3 separate regions of the Homo sapiens genome follow, and all the other regions are linked to region 2. Evidence: promoter capture Hi-C in 16 types of primary human blood cells and fetal thymus (Javierre and others, 2016). All regions are on one chromosome and are shown on one strand. The core of a region is centred on a gene start or on the middle of the fragment in contact, and the rest is flanking DNA. Distances in the headings are between cores, read along the strand shown. Region 1 has its middle 19 kb from the start of MAP7D3. Region 2 holds the start of MMGT1 (membrane magnesium transporter 1). Region 3 has its middle 29 kb from the start of INTS6L.

What was found. The method cuts DNA at HindIII sites, captures the fragments that hold promoters and counts their contacts. A CHiCAGO score of 5 or more calls a contact.
Region 1: a fragment that was not itself captured here is called in contact with the fragment with the promoter of MMGT1 in region 2 in 4 of 17 cell types (naive B cells, M2 macrophages, total B cells and 1 more); the score reaches 8.5 in naive B cells.
Region 3: a fragment that was not itself captured here is called in contact with the fragment with the promoter of MMGT1 in region 2 in 1 of 17 cell types (monocytes); the score reaches 6.5 in monocytes.

What each region holds. Positions count from the first base shown.
Region 1 is chrX:136,268,932-136,272,853 of GRCh38, reverse strand. No RefSeq gene overlaps it. Among named protein-coding and RNA genes, the nearest start is that of MAP7D3, 19 kb to the right of the region's middle. The HindIII fragment of the contact is 1,899 bases long and covers 1,402-3,300 here.
Region 2 is chrX:135,972,695-135,976,655 of GRCh38, reverse strand. It overlaps MMGT1 (membrane magnesium transporter 1), which reads left to right and starts at 2,668. Exons shown (of 4, transcript NM_173470.3): 1 at 2,668-3,059. The coding sequence starts at 2,981. It also overlaps a transcript of SLC9A6 not described here. RefSeq lists a silencer at 2,470-2,579 and an enhancer at 2,590-3,119. The HindIII fragment of the contact is 2,640 bases long and covers 1,385-3,961 here.
Region 3 is chrX:135,489,661-135,493,754 of GRCh38, reverse strand. No RefSeq gene overlaps it. Among named protein-coding and RNA genes, the nearest start is that of INTS6L, 29 kb to the left of the region's middle. The HindIII fragment of the contact is 4,497 bases long and covers 466-4,094 here.

The DNA.
Region 1 (3,922 bases), core at 1,102-3,601, 300 kb before region 2:
GAGGTCCAAATACCCTGCAAATTTGCCAGCGTTTCATATGAACAGTTTTGTCTTTGTTTTAGTTGTAGCCATCCTAATAGGTATGCAGTGGTATCTCACTGTGGCTTTAATTTGCATTTCCTGAATGACTAATGATGTTGAGCATCTTTTCATGTGCTTATTTGCCAGCACTATGCTTGGCACATAATAAATGCTCCCTTCCAAGATTTTGGGTGGTTTCTACCCACTGCTTCCCAAATGCATAATTTCAACAGGGGCCATCTAGAGACAAGGATTTTAAGTTGCAGTTGCTTGTTTGGGAAGAAAGGCATGGGGGAGCTAGAGAGAAGAGTAGATCTCCTGAAACTTCTCACGCAGCACACTGTGTAGTGACCACAGACTTCTGGTGGGAATAATTGTCCTAATTCTAGCTGAGTGTAGTGGCTCATGCCTATAATCCCAGCTACTCAGGAGGCTGAGACAGGAGGATTGTTTGAGGCCAGGAGTTTGAGACAAGCCTGGACAACATAGAGAGACCCTGTCTCTGCAAAAAAACTTTAAAGACTACCTAGGTGTGGTGGCACGCACTTGTAGTTCCAGCTACTCTAGAGGCTGAGGCGGGAGGATCACTTGTGCCCAGGAGTTTGAGGCTGCAGTGAGCTATTATTGCACCATTGCACCCCAGCCTGGGCAACAGAGTGACACTCTGTCTCAAAATAAATAAACAAATAAATGGTTTTTTTAATTGCTCTAATTCTAAAAATTCTTTTTAGTACTAGCTTCTTTGAATTACATATACAAACATACACACACACATGCATGCACACACACACGCATGCACACACACATGCATGATCAGAGGCAGTTTTTTAAATTAAATAATTGTTTTTGAGTGAATTGTACAGTAAAGGCAGATAGCTAGATTGTAGGGGAGCTGTAGCAAGTCGCTGAAAACCTGCCCACATGTCCTGCATTATTACAGTTATGATTCATATAAAATGAGATGAGAACATTTACTATCCTTGCAATCTTCCCTTCACACTCTAAAATGAAGTCTCCATCATTTCTCATTTATTTTGCTGTTGTTTTGTTTTGTTTTGATTTTTAATCACCAACTTGATTCTCAAAGCCTGGAACTCAATTACAAAGTTCATTTTGACTTACCAAATATTTACTGGGTACCTAAAACATGCCAAGCACTAGGCTAGAAAACATGGGAGAATTTCATGTTAAGTAAGACATTCTCTCAACCCCTGGAGGGGAACTTGTGGTCTATGTGCCCCTCAGGCTTGTTTCCGGAAACAGCTGAAAATTCTGCTTGTACTCCAGACTTAGTACATGGAGTCTAGGCATGAGGTGAGTCCTCTATTTTTTTTTTAAAAGAACCCTTTTCTCCTTTGATGACCCTCCAAACACAAAGCTTCCTTTAGTTTCCAACTCACTTCCTCTTTTTTAGCAACATTCTCAGCTTGTATTCAACTATTTCCTGTTCACATTTTCTAACTGTCCTGTTAATTATTCTCTGCCTTAAGAAAAACCATAGAGTAACAACATAAAATATTATACTTGATTTAGTATATATTATTTGCCTAAGGAACCAAAAAAATGTCAAAAGAGGGTCGTGAGAGGTCTAGGCATGGTGGCTCATGCTTGTAATCCCAGCGATTTGGGAGGCCACGGTGGGTGGATTACTTGACGCCAAGAGTTCGAGACCAGCCTGGCCAGCATGGTGAAACCCCATCTCTACTAAAAATACAAAAAAAAAAAAAAATAGCCGGGTGTGGTGGTGCATGCCTGTAACCCCAGCTACTTGGGAGGCTGAGGCAGGAGAATTGCTTGAACCCAGGAGGTGGCGTTTGCAGTGAGCCGAGATGGTGCCACTGCACTCCAGTCTGGGCAATAGAGCGAGACTGTCTCAAAAATAAAGGGGGGGGGGGAGGTGAGAGCAAGAGTAAAATCATTGTAGTGCATATTCGGTTCATATTACATAGATATAGAACAGATGATAGATGAATAGATACATACATACATACATACATACATAGATTCTTGTTTAAGGAACCTCTTCATCTAAATTGGTAATTCAGTGAGAGGAAGAGGGGATTGTATTTGACAAACACAAGAAGGAAGTCCATTTATTTCAGTGAATAATTCTGTGCATGCTTGTTTATTACTGAAGAGAATTTTGTGTGTGAGAGAGGAAGGTTTGAATTACTTAACTACACAGTCAATTCTTAATTATCCATGTTAATAGACAGAAGCGATTACTCTGATAATCTGAAACAACAGATAATCAAAAATTCTTCCCCTTAATTAGTCACCTATCCTCCTACAGTTTGTCTCCCGCTCTATCCCCACCCAGAAAACAATTTTCTGTACATTAGGGAAAATGTTTTCCAGAGGTAATCTCTCCCCTTACAGGCAACTAGCCTACCAAGTGATCCATCAGTTTCCTGAGGAGAGGCTGTAATCCTGGAATGCCTATGTGTTAATTTACAACAAAGTCTAGGGATGGCAAGGAGGGAATCTCTTCCTAGAGTTAAAAATATACATGTCCACTAGTTAGAGGATACACTCACCTCCTGCCTCCTGGTATTAGTGCATCTCAGAAGCCAAGCCTTCAGTGAGTATAGGGCAGTGATTAAGAGCTGAGATGGTCAGGGAGAGCTATGTGACCTTGGGCAAACTGCTTTCTGAGCCTCAACTTACTCAGCTATAAAATAGGGGTCATAATAATTATGACTTCATTGGGCTATTGTCAGATATATGAGATAACGACTGGAAAGTCCCTAACACAATGAATGCCCTTGGTGATATCAGCTATTATTATCATCATTATTGTTATTACTTAGGTTGTTGACAGTGCAAAGAGCTATTCCAGGCTGGGCACAGTGGCTCAAGCCTGTAATCCCAGCACTTTGGGAGGCCAAGGCAGGCAGATCACTTGAGGCCAGGAGTTTGAGACCAACCAGCCTGGCCAACATGGTGAAAACCCATCTCTACTAGAAATATTTTAAAAAATTAGCTGGGTATGGTGTCATGCGCCTGTAATCCCAGCTACTTGGGAGGCTGAGGCATGAGCCTCTCACTTGAACCCGGGAGGCAGAGGAGGTTGCAGTGAGCCATAATTGTGCCACTGCACTCAAGCCTGGGCGACAAAACCAGAATCTGTCTCGAAAAAAAAAAAAAGGAATCATTGCAAGAATGGGGGCCATCCAAACTAGGAGCTGTGAGTTTGCTGCAAATGATTAATAATAATAATAAAATATTTTGATTTTTAAAAATACATTCTAGCAGATTCAAGTTATCCTGCAATAAGCTTTGCTTCTCATCTCACTTCTGATATTCTTTCCTAATAGCAGAGGAAACCGTAAGATTAGATCTGGTGCACTGGGAGCCCTGGGCACTCCCTGATGGGTGGGAATGTATCTGATGAAGATTGAGATCTGTTGACTGGGGGGCCTTTATACTCAGCCTGACCTCTCTGAGTCCTGATGAGAGATTTCTTCCCTCATCCCAGTAGAGAGCATCTTCTAGTGCCTGAAGCTCCCAACAGCTTCAGTTTCTCCAGATTTCCAGCCAGACCACCCATTTCTCCCTACCAGAACGACTTGGCTTCCTTATATATGTTCATATCATTGATGGTATCTCCTAATATTGCTCCAGACTGAAGGTGATTTTGCAAATATCTAATCTCATCCATTTTGGGTGGATTTGATCAGACCAGGTTTCAGAGTTCTGAGACTAGTCTTCTGTCAGTCTTGCCTATGTTAACTACCTTTGTGACCTTGGTCAAATCCGTTTTCTTCTGTGCTATGACCCGGGCTGCCTTAGAAATTCTCTGATGATGGTTCCTTCCTGCTCAGACTTAGGGTTCTAGGATTCCAGCTGGGAGAGGGAGAGGATCAGTAGGAAAGGACACAGTGTAAGCAGATGTTTGGAG
Region 2 (3,961 bases), core at 1,419-3,918:
TTCAGATAAATTGATATTAAAAGGGTTTTTTTCTTTTTTCTTTTTTTTTTTTGGAAATGGAGTTTCACTCTTGTTGCCCAGGCTGGAGTGCAATGGCGTGATCTCGGCTCACTGCAACCTCCGCCTCCTGGGTTCAAGCGATTCTCCTGCCTCAGCCTCCTGAGTAGCTGGAATTACAGGGGCCCACCACCACGCCCGGCAAATTTTTTGTATTTTTAGTAGAGATGGGGTTTCACCATGTTGGCCAGGCTGGTCTGGAAGAAGGGGTAATTTTACAGGGGATCTGAAAAGGCTAATTTCAATCTGACCATTATTTTAGACAAAACAAAGTTGTAAGATTTTTTTGGTCAACTATCTTTTCTACCTTATTACCTCCCAGGGGCGGAGAAGGAAGCACTTTCCTGTCAACTACAGAGAGATTATCTCCTGGTTCTTCCTGATTGTATAAATAGAACTACATTTGTAAGGAATGCATTATACTGCACTTGACATCCATCAAGTATTGTGTAAAATTCTGGCTTAGAGGTGAAGAAATTGGAAAGGGCCCAGAAAAGAATAATGAACATGACTAAAGGTTTGGAAAATGAGATCCAGGACAAAAATTATATAAGTAAAGTTGAGGAAATATGATTAATTTTAGATGTCTTCTTCTACTTTTTTTTTTTTTTTTTTTTGGTTAGAGAAAGGGTCTCGCTCTGTCACTCAGCCTGTAGTGCAGTGGCATAATCATGGCTCACTGTAGCCTTGAACTCCTGGGATCAAGCAATCCTCCTTCTTTAGCTTCCCAAGTAGCTAGGACTACAAGCATGTGCTACTATGCCCAGCTAATGAGATGTCTTATTTGTTTTTCCAGCTTTGAGGAAGCTCAAGCATATCAGAAAATGTTTACAATCAAAAGGTTGTCAAAATGTGAGAGTACATGCAAGTCCATGGGGATTTTTGAGCCCAATTCAAAAGATTGGAAGGACTCTCTGTAGAGATCCTTTCAAATAGGGATACTGTCCCAATTATTTTCCGGAATTCATTTGTCATTCAACAAGCACTTATTGAATGCTTATCACATGACAGTCAAAGTTTTAGGTACAGAGAAATCTCTGTTCTCTCAGAGCTTACATTCCAGTGGGGAAAGACAGACAGTAAACAGTAACACAACAAACATAAATAGTTAAATTATATAGTATGTTAGAAGGTGATATAAAAAGTAGAACAGAATAAGGGGATCAGGAATAGGAATTTTGCACATTTAAAAGGGGTGGTCAGGATAGGACGCATCTTTGAGCAAAAGCAAATTGATGCAACTAAAACGTAGAATTCTGATTGGGTTAAAGGAAAAGAATGGTGATCATACTTTGCATTTACCTTGTGATATGCAGTTTACAAAGCTTTGCCACTCAGTCAGGGGTCACTGGAGGAACTGGTGCAGAATTTGGAAAAAAAGGATGAATTCCATTTTAGCCATATTACGTTTTAAGTGCCACAGGAAATAAATGCCTATCTGGTAGTCAGAAATGCAGCCCTGGAGCTAAGGAGAGATATTTGTGATAGAGATGTCGATTTGGAATCACTGTAATACCTTTGCTGGCTGAAGCGGTGGGAATGAATGGGTGAGCTCCCCAGGGGACAGCAGAGTGATGAGGTCAAGGGGAGAAGCTCACTATTAAATGTCTACATTTCAGGAGATGAAGACAAAGAAAAATGGGCAGAGGAGTATACATTTTACCCGGATCAGAGATAGAGACAAGGCAAGAAGGCTGCGTTATTAGCATTTTAAAATTTCCTCTTTCATTTCTTCCTTAATGTAAGCTGGTTCTTTTCACGACAAAACACTCCCCCCGCGCTACACCTCTTTTTGCGCGAATCTTTCTCCAGGACCTTAAAATGGTTTACTGAGCACTTCCCGCGAGCCAAGTATTTGGGGTTCCAGATCCTGGGATTTTGTCCTGACACTGCCTCCTCGTTTTAACACCCTTGCCTCCTTCTGCAGTGCCAGTTTCCAGGGAGCTGAAGCACAGGAAAGGCCTACAGAAAACAAAAGGCACAGTTTCACAAAAAGCCAAAACCAACCAACCCACAAAACACAACTGTCAGGGGTCTATATCCAGCACCTACCGCCTTTCCCCAACGCCCCCAGCCCCGCCCCTCGGCCCCACCTCCTCCCGCCCCTCGGCCCCACCTCCTCCCCGCCCCCTCGGTCCCACTCCTCCGCGCCCCCTCGGTCCCACCTCCTCCCCGCCCCTCGGTCCCACCTCCTCCCCGCCCCCTCGGCCCTCACCCACTCTCCGTCCCCTCCGCCCCGCCCCCTACGCCCCACCCATCCTCCCGTAGGCCCCGCCCTCGGCCCCACCTCCTCCCCGCCCCTCGGCCCCACCTCCTCCCCGCCCCTCGGCCCCACCTCCTCCCCGCCCCTCGGCCCCACCCATCCTCCCCGCAGGCCCCGCCACTCGACCGCACCCACCAGGGCCCCCCCCCCCCGGCTACGCCCACCCACCCACCCACTGGCCCCGCCCCTCGGCTACACCCACCCTCGTGCGGGCCCCGCGCGTCTTCCCCACCCCGCCCGTCTGCCTACCCCGCCCCTCGCCCCCACACGTTCTCTACGCAGGCCCCCGTCCCTCTGCCCCACCCTGTTCTCGCCACTGGCCCTGCCCCCATTTGCCGGCGCCCTTCCTCTTCGCTTCCCCGTAGCTCCCGCTTTCGCCTCTTCGTTTATGACTCCGTTGGGCTCCGGCCCTCCTAGAGAGGCCTCCATAGCGCAGGTTCGTGGGTTCTCGCGGACCTTTTTCCGTGTAGCTTTCTGCTTCTTCCCGGCATTCCTGTTTCCGTTTTCTCACAGCCCTCTGGCTTTTCCACCACTGAGACACTTTGCGCTCAGGACTTCAGTGACGTCATCTTTCTGCGGCGCGCGGACACCCGCCGGTGGAAGAAGAAACAGCTCCGCCGTCCTTCGCTTCTTTTGCTGGGCTGCTGCTCCTTCGGCATCATGGCGCCGTCGCTGTGGAAGGGGCTGGTGGGCATCGGTCTCTTTGCCCTAGCCCACGCCGCCTTTTCCGCTGCGCAGCGTAAGTGCCTGGGGCACGGGGACCGCTTCGGTGTGGAACCCTAGGGGCGGTGTGTGGGCGCACTTCTAAGGGACCATCGGACCGAGTGTCAGATTAATGGTCCTTTGAGACCTTACAGTTTGGGGTGACTAAGAAAATCAGTGCAGGAGTTCCCAGTGGAAGGTTCGGAGTTTGAATTTGGAGAGAGTGTGGCACCTGAAATTGCAGGAAGGTTGGAAGGAGGTGTCTGGGAGAGGGTTCAGAATAGGAGTCTCCAGGAATCCAGGACAAGTGATGTCAGATCCAGCATGGGGCAGATCAGGCACAGTTGTGAGATTGAGGACTCTGGTTGCTCATGGTCCCACGACAACCAAGTGGACAACATCTTGGGCACTCTTGGGCTGTCCAGGCAGAGACTGAGTAGTTAAGTGACCGATTGCCTCAGGGAGGCACTGTGGTACAGGAGAAAGAGCACTGGACTGGGAGTCTAAAGGACTGGTTGTTAAAAACTTGCATTACCGCTACATCTGTGTGACGTTGGGCAAAAGATTTGTGCTACACTGCGTTATGAAATTCAGTTTTGGGTCGCTGTTTGAAATTGCGCTGTGTTTAGGTGCTAGAGATACAGTGATGCCCTGAGCCAGTTCAAAGTCTAAAGGAAAACAAGTGGATCAAGAAGTAGTTACAATAAAGTGATATGCTAAAAGTATATAAGGATGCATGGAAGCAGGGACAGTCATATTTTGGGGGAACTGGGAGGTTAAGGAAAGTATCCTAGATCCTTGCTGCTTACAGTGTGATCAACAGACCAGCATCATGAGCACCACCTGGCAGGTAATTAGAAGATACTCAGGCCAGACCTGTTCAATCAGAATCTGGGTTTTAATAAGATCCCAGGGTGATTTGTATGCGCATTAGTTTGA
Region 3 (4,094 bases), core at 1,465-3,964, 480 kb after region 2:
TGAGAAAGAGAGGGAGGCAAAGCAGCTGGCTCAACCAAAATAGGCTCAGAACCAGGAGAAATTCCCTATCATGGGAAAAAGGTAAGCAAGATATCCTCAGGGGTACACATTACCACCATAAATTCCTGCAATCCTAGCCATGGGAGAGCCCCTTGGCATTCATGGGCCTTGAGCCTAGTATAGGGAACTGCATAGAGTGGCAGGTGGTGCAGGTCTGCCCACAGGAATCTCAATCGTGTATGCAAGTGCCAGCTGTGGTGAATGGGGCCAGGTGATCCCCAGGCCCCCAGATGACATGCAAAAGCACTGGTGGTGGCAGAGGTGGGGCATGCCTGTCCTCAGGCTCCAGGATGATGTAGGGGCAGGCCGGTCTGTAGTGTAAGTCTTCCAGCTTTGTTTTTCTTTTCAAAATTGTTTTGGTTACTTTGAGTCCTTTGCATTTCCATATAAATTTTAGAACAAGCTTGTTAATTTCTATAAAAATGCATGTTAAGATTTTGTCTAGAGTTGCCCTGAATATGCAGATCAATTTGGGGAAGATTGACATCTTAACAGTATTTATTCTTCCAAGTGATAAACACTCTTCCCCTCTTTAATTAAGTCTTTTAAAATTTATCTCAGCAATGTTTTGTAGTTTTTGGTGTACAGCTCTTGCGTTTTTTTGTCAAATTTATCCCTAAGTGTTTCATACTTTTGATGCTACTATAAATAATATTTTAAATTTTAATTCCTGATTGTTCATTCCTAGTATAGAAAAACATTGTATAATGATCTTATATCCTGCAACTAAGCTAAACTCACTTCTTAGTTTTAGTAACTTCTTTGTAGATTACACTGGATTTTCTCCATCATTTCTTCTGAAAATAAAGATAGTTTAATTTCTTCCTTTCTGATCTGGATGCTTTTTCTTTTCCTGCCTTAGTGCACTGGTTTGAATGTCCAGTACATTGTTGGATAGAAGTGGTGAGAGCACACGTCCTTGCTTTGTTCTTGATCTTAAGAGGAAAAACTCTAATTTTTCCTAATTAAATATGATGGTATATGTAGGTTTTTTTGTAAGTGCCCTTTATGTCCGGAAAGTTCCTTTTTATTCCTAGTTTGCTGAGAGGTTTGTTTTTAATTGGGAATAGATGTAGTATTTCCTTAAGTCTATTGAGAAAATGATATGTTTTTAGTTTTTTAATCCATTAATATGGTGAACTGAATTAATTTCCGAATGTTAAACCAACTTTGCCTCCCTGGCATAAATGACACTTGATATCAATGTATTCACTTTTTAAATATATCTTGTTGGATTTGATTTTCTGAGATTTTGTTAAGAATTTTTGCATCGAAGTTTATAAGGGATATTAGTTTGTAACCACAGACCTTTTCTTTTCTTGTAATTTCTTTTCATAGTTTTGGTGTCAGATAAATGTAGGCCTCAAAGAATGAGTTGAGAGGTATTCTATTGTCTCCAACTTTTTGGAAGAGTTTATATAGTTTTACTATTATTTACATTTAAGTGAGTAGTAGAATTCACCAGTGAAGTCATTTGGCTTGGTAGTTCTTAAAGTTTAGTTGCAATGTGGAATGTGAAGTCATATCAATGAATGTTTTACGTTTATCTTTCAACTCAAACAACTAGACAAGTGCTTTCCACTGAAACAACCACTATACTTTATTGCAAAGTGGAACTACGTTATGCATACTTCTCATTTCGTTACTATGCAATATAAAAGGATTTAATAAAAATAATAATTTTTGCTCTTTCTCCAAAGGCATTCTTAAATGAAACTGCTTTTTTTCCCTCTGAGTATGTGGTATCGAAGACTACAATAAAATGTGTTATTGAAGACTACAAAAACCACTACAAGTTAGTGGTTTAGTTCCACTGCCTTGATTCATTCTAAGGGGCTGGCAGTTTTACTCACCATTGCTTTTGCACTATCTGTGCAAACTTCAACATAGTGAAAAAAGTGAATAATATTTTGATATTATATTAGTTTTGACTTTGTGGACCCCCTGAGACTGTCTCAAGGGATTGTATGGGTCCATAGACCACACTTTGAGAAGCACTGCATTATAATTTGAGGATAAGTATTCAAATGTTTAGCTTGGATTTAATATCTCAATTACATTCCATGGTGCCTGCACTGATGGTTCCCCAGTGAATATATAAAAAATCAAAATAATGAGAAATTCAATAAGAAGAGTTTCTGTCTATTCAAAATAAGATCTTAAAGCAAGTAAATCACAAGTGAAGAAATATAGGCCTTTAAAATTATATTAAGCCAGTTGAATCTGTTTCTCCCAATTGACTTACACCATACTGCAATTATTTATCTTTGGTTAACAAAAATAAACTCTCAAGTTTCAAGAAACTAACCTCAATTACTTGTCACCTTACCTCTTCCACCTCCAGTTTCCTTATCTGTAAAACTGTGTGGGAGGTGGTGGTGATCATAATAGAATCTACCTCATAATGCCATAGGAACCAAATGAGATCCTGAATGTAAAGCACGTGAATGCTGAATTAATATTAGCTATTATGCTAACGTTCTCATTCCTTTTATGATTGCATCATATTCTGTAGTATGAATGGATCAAAATTTTCCCTGGTCGTTCCATATAGTGTGATAGCTCTGGGAACTTTGAAAGATAGGAGTCACGGGGTTGGAGTAATATAATTTTGGAGGTGTTGAATTTTGCACCAGTTTCATTTCATGTAATCACTCAGTAATTTAAAGTAGGTTAAAAGGTAGATTAATAGAGATTCCTATAGGATTTCCATTGTACGGGTGGACAAAATTCATTTGTAATTTATTCCTGGAGTACTTAAAATTGCTTAATTCTTTCAAGGAAGTACTTCTCACCATCACCCCTCACCACTATACTAATATACACACATAGACACAGATACACACACACATATATCTTGTTTATTAATTATTTGCCTAGAAATTTCATGATGACAAATTTAGGCCAGGTCTGACTAAATTATCACAAAATCTAAAATTTAATTGTTCAAAATCAGAAAAAAACAATTTTGGAGGTGTTGAAGGAGCTATGCACTTTCTAATAGATGCTGGTCCAGGCTTCAACCAAGGCAGGGTTTCTCAACCTTGGCTCTTTTGACATTTTGGACTGTATAATTCTTTGTTGTGTGTGTATCTGGGGTAAGGGGTGCTGTGCACTGTAGGATGTTTAATGGCATCCCTGGCCTCTATCCACTTGATGCTAGTGGCACCCTTCACCCCGTGTCATGACAACCAAAACATCTTTAGACATTGTCAAATATCACCCAGTGTGCAAAGTGCCTCCAGTTGAGAATCACTGAACCAGGTACTGAAGGAAGACCCTTCTGGCTGGACAGAACAGTACAGAAACAGAATCGTATAAGGAAGATGTTTTTTAGATAATTTTACTTAAATATCTCTGTTGGAAAAGACAGCAGCAATAATAACAGCTATAAGTTACTAAGTGCTATTAGGCACTTTGCAAACATCAATCCTTACAGCAACACTATAGATATGAATATTCCCATTTTACAGATGAGTAAAACAATACCCAGAAAAGTTAAGTTACATGCCCAAGAGAGGGACAGAGCTAGGATTAGTATCTGATCTAATTGACTTCTAAGCTCATGCTCTGAACCATCACAGTATTAATTTTGTTAGAAATGCAGCTTCCTCTGTGGGATGTTAATATTTAGCGTGCCTTGTATAATCCTGTCTGGTGACCCTATTTGGATAACTGAGTTGAGCATAATTTTAGATGAGAAATTGAATAGGGGGTGACTTCCTGACCCAGTACGTGGGATAGCCTTGGGATAAACTTAATTGAAGTATTACTTTGATGGGTTACAGAGACTTCTGAGGTAAGATCAAAGAGACATTTGTATAAGGCCTTGAGGGACCAAATTAGCCATCTCATTGGTTCTAGCAGCCATGACAATAATTAGTCAAGCAGCCTTTCGAAGGTGCTGGTAGGACTTTCCTTATACCTCTAATTGTCTCCCTCAAGGGGAAGTGAAATCACCTTTGACTGACCCCAGATCTGGCTGCTAAGCACTTTGGTTTAGTTGAAGAGAAAATGTTTGGGGAAATGTTAAC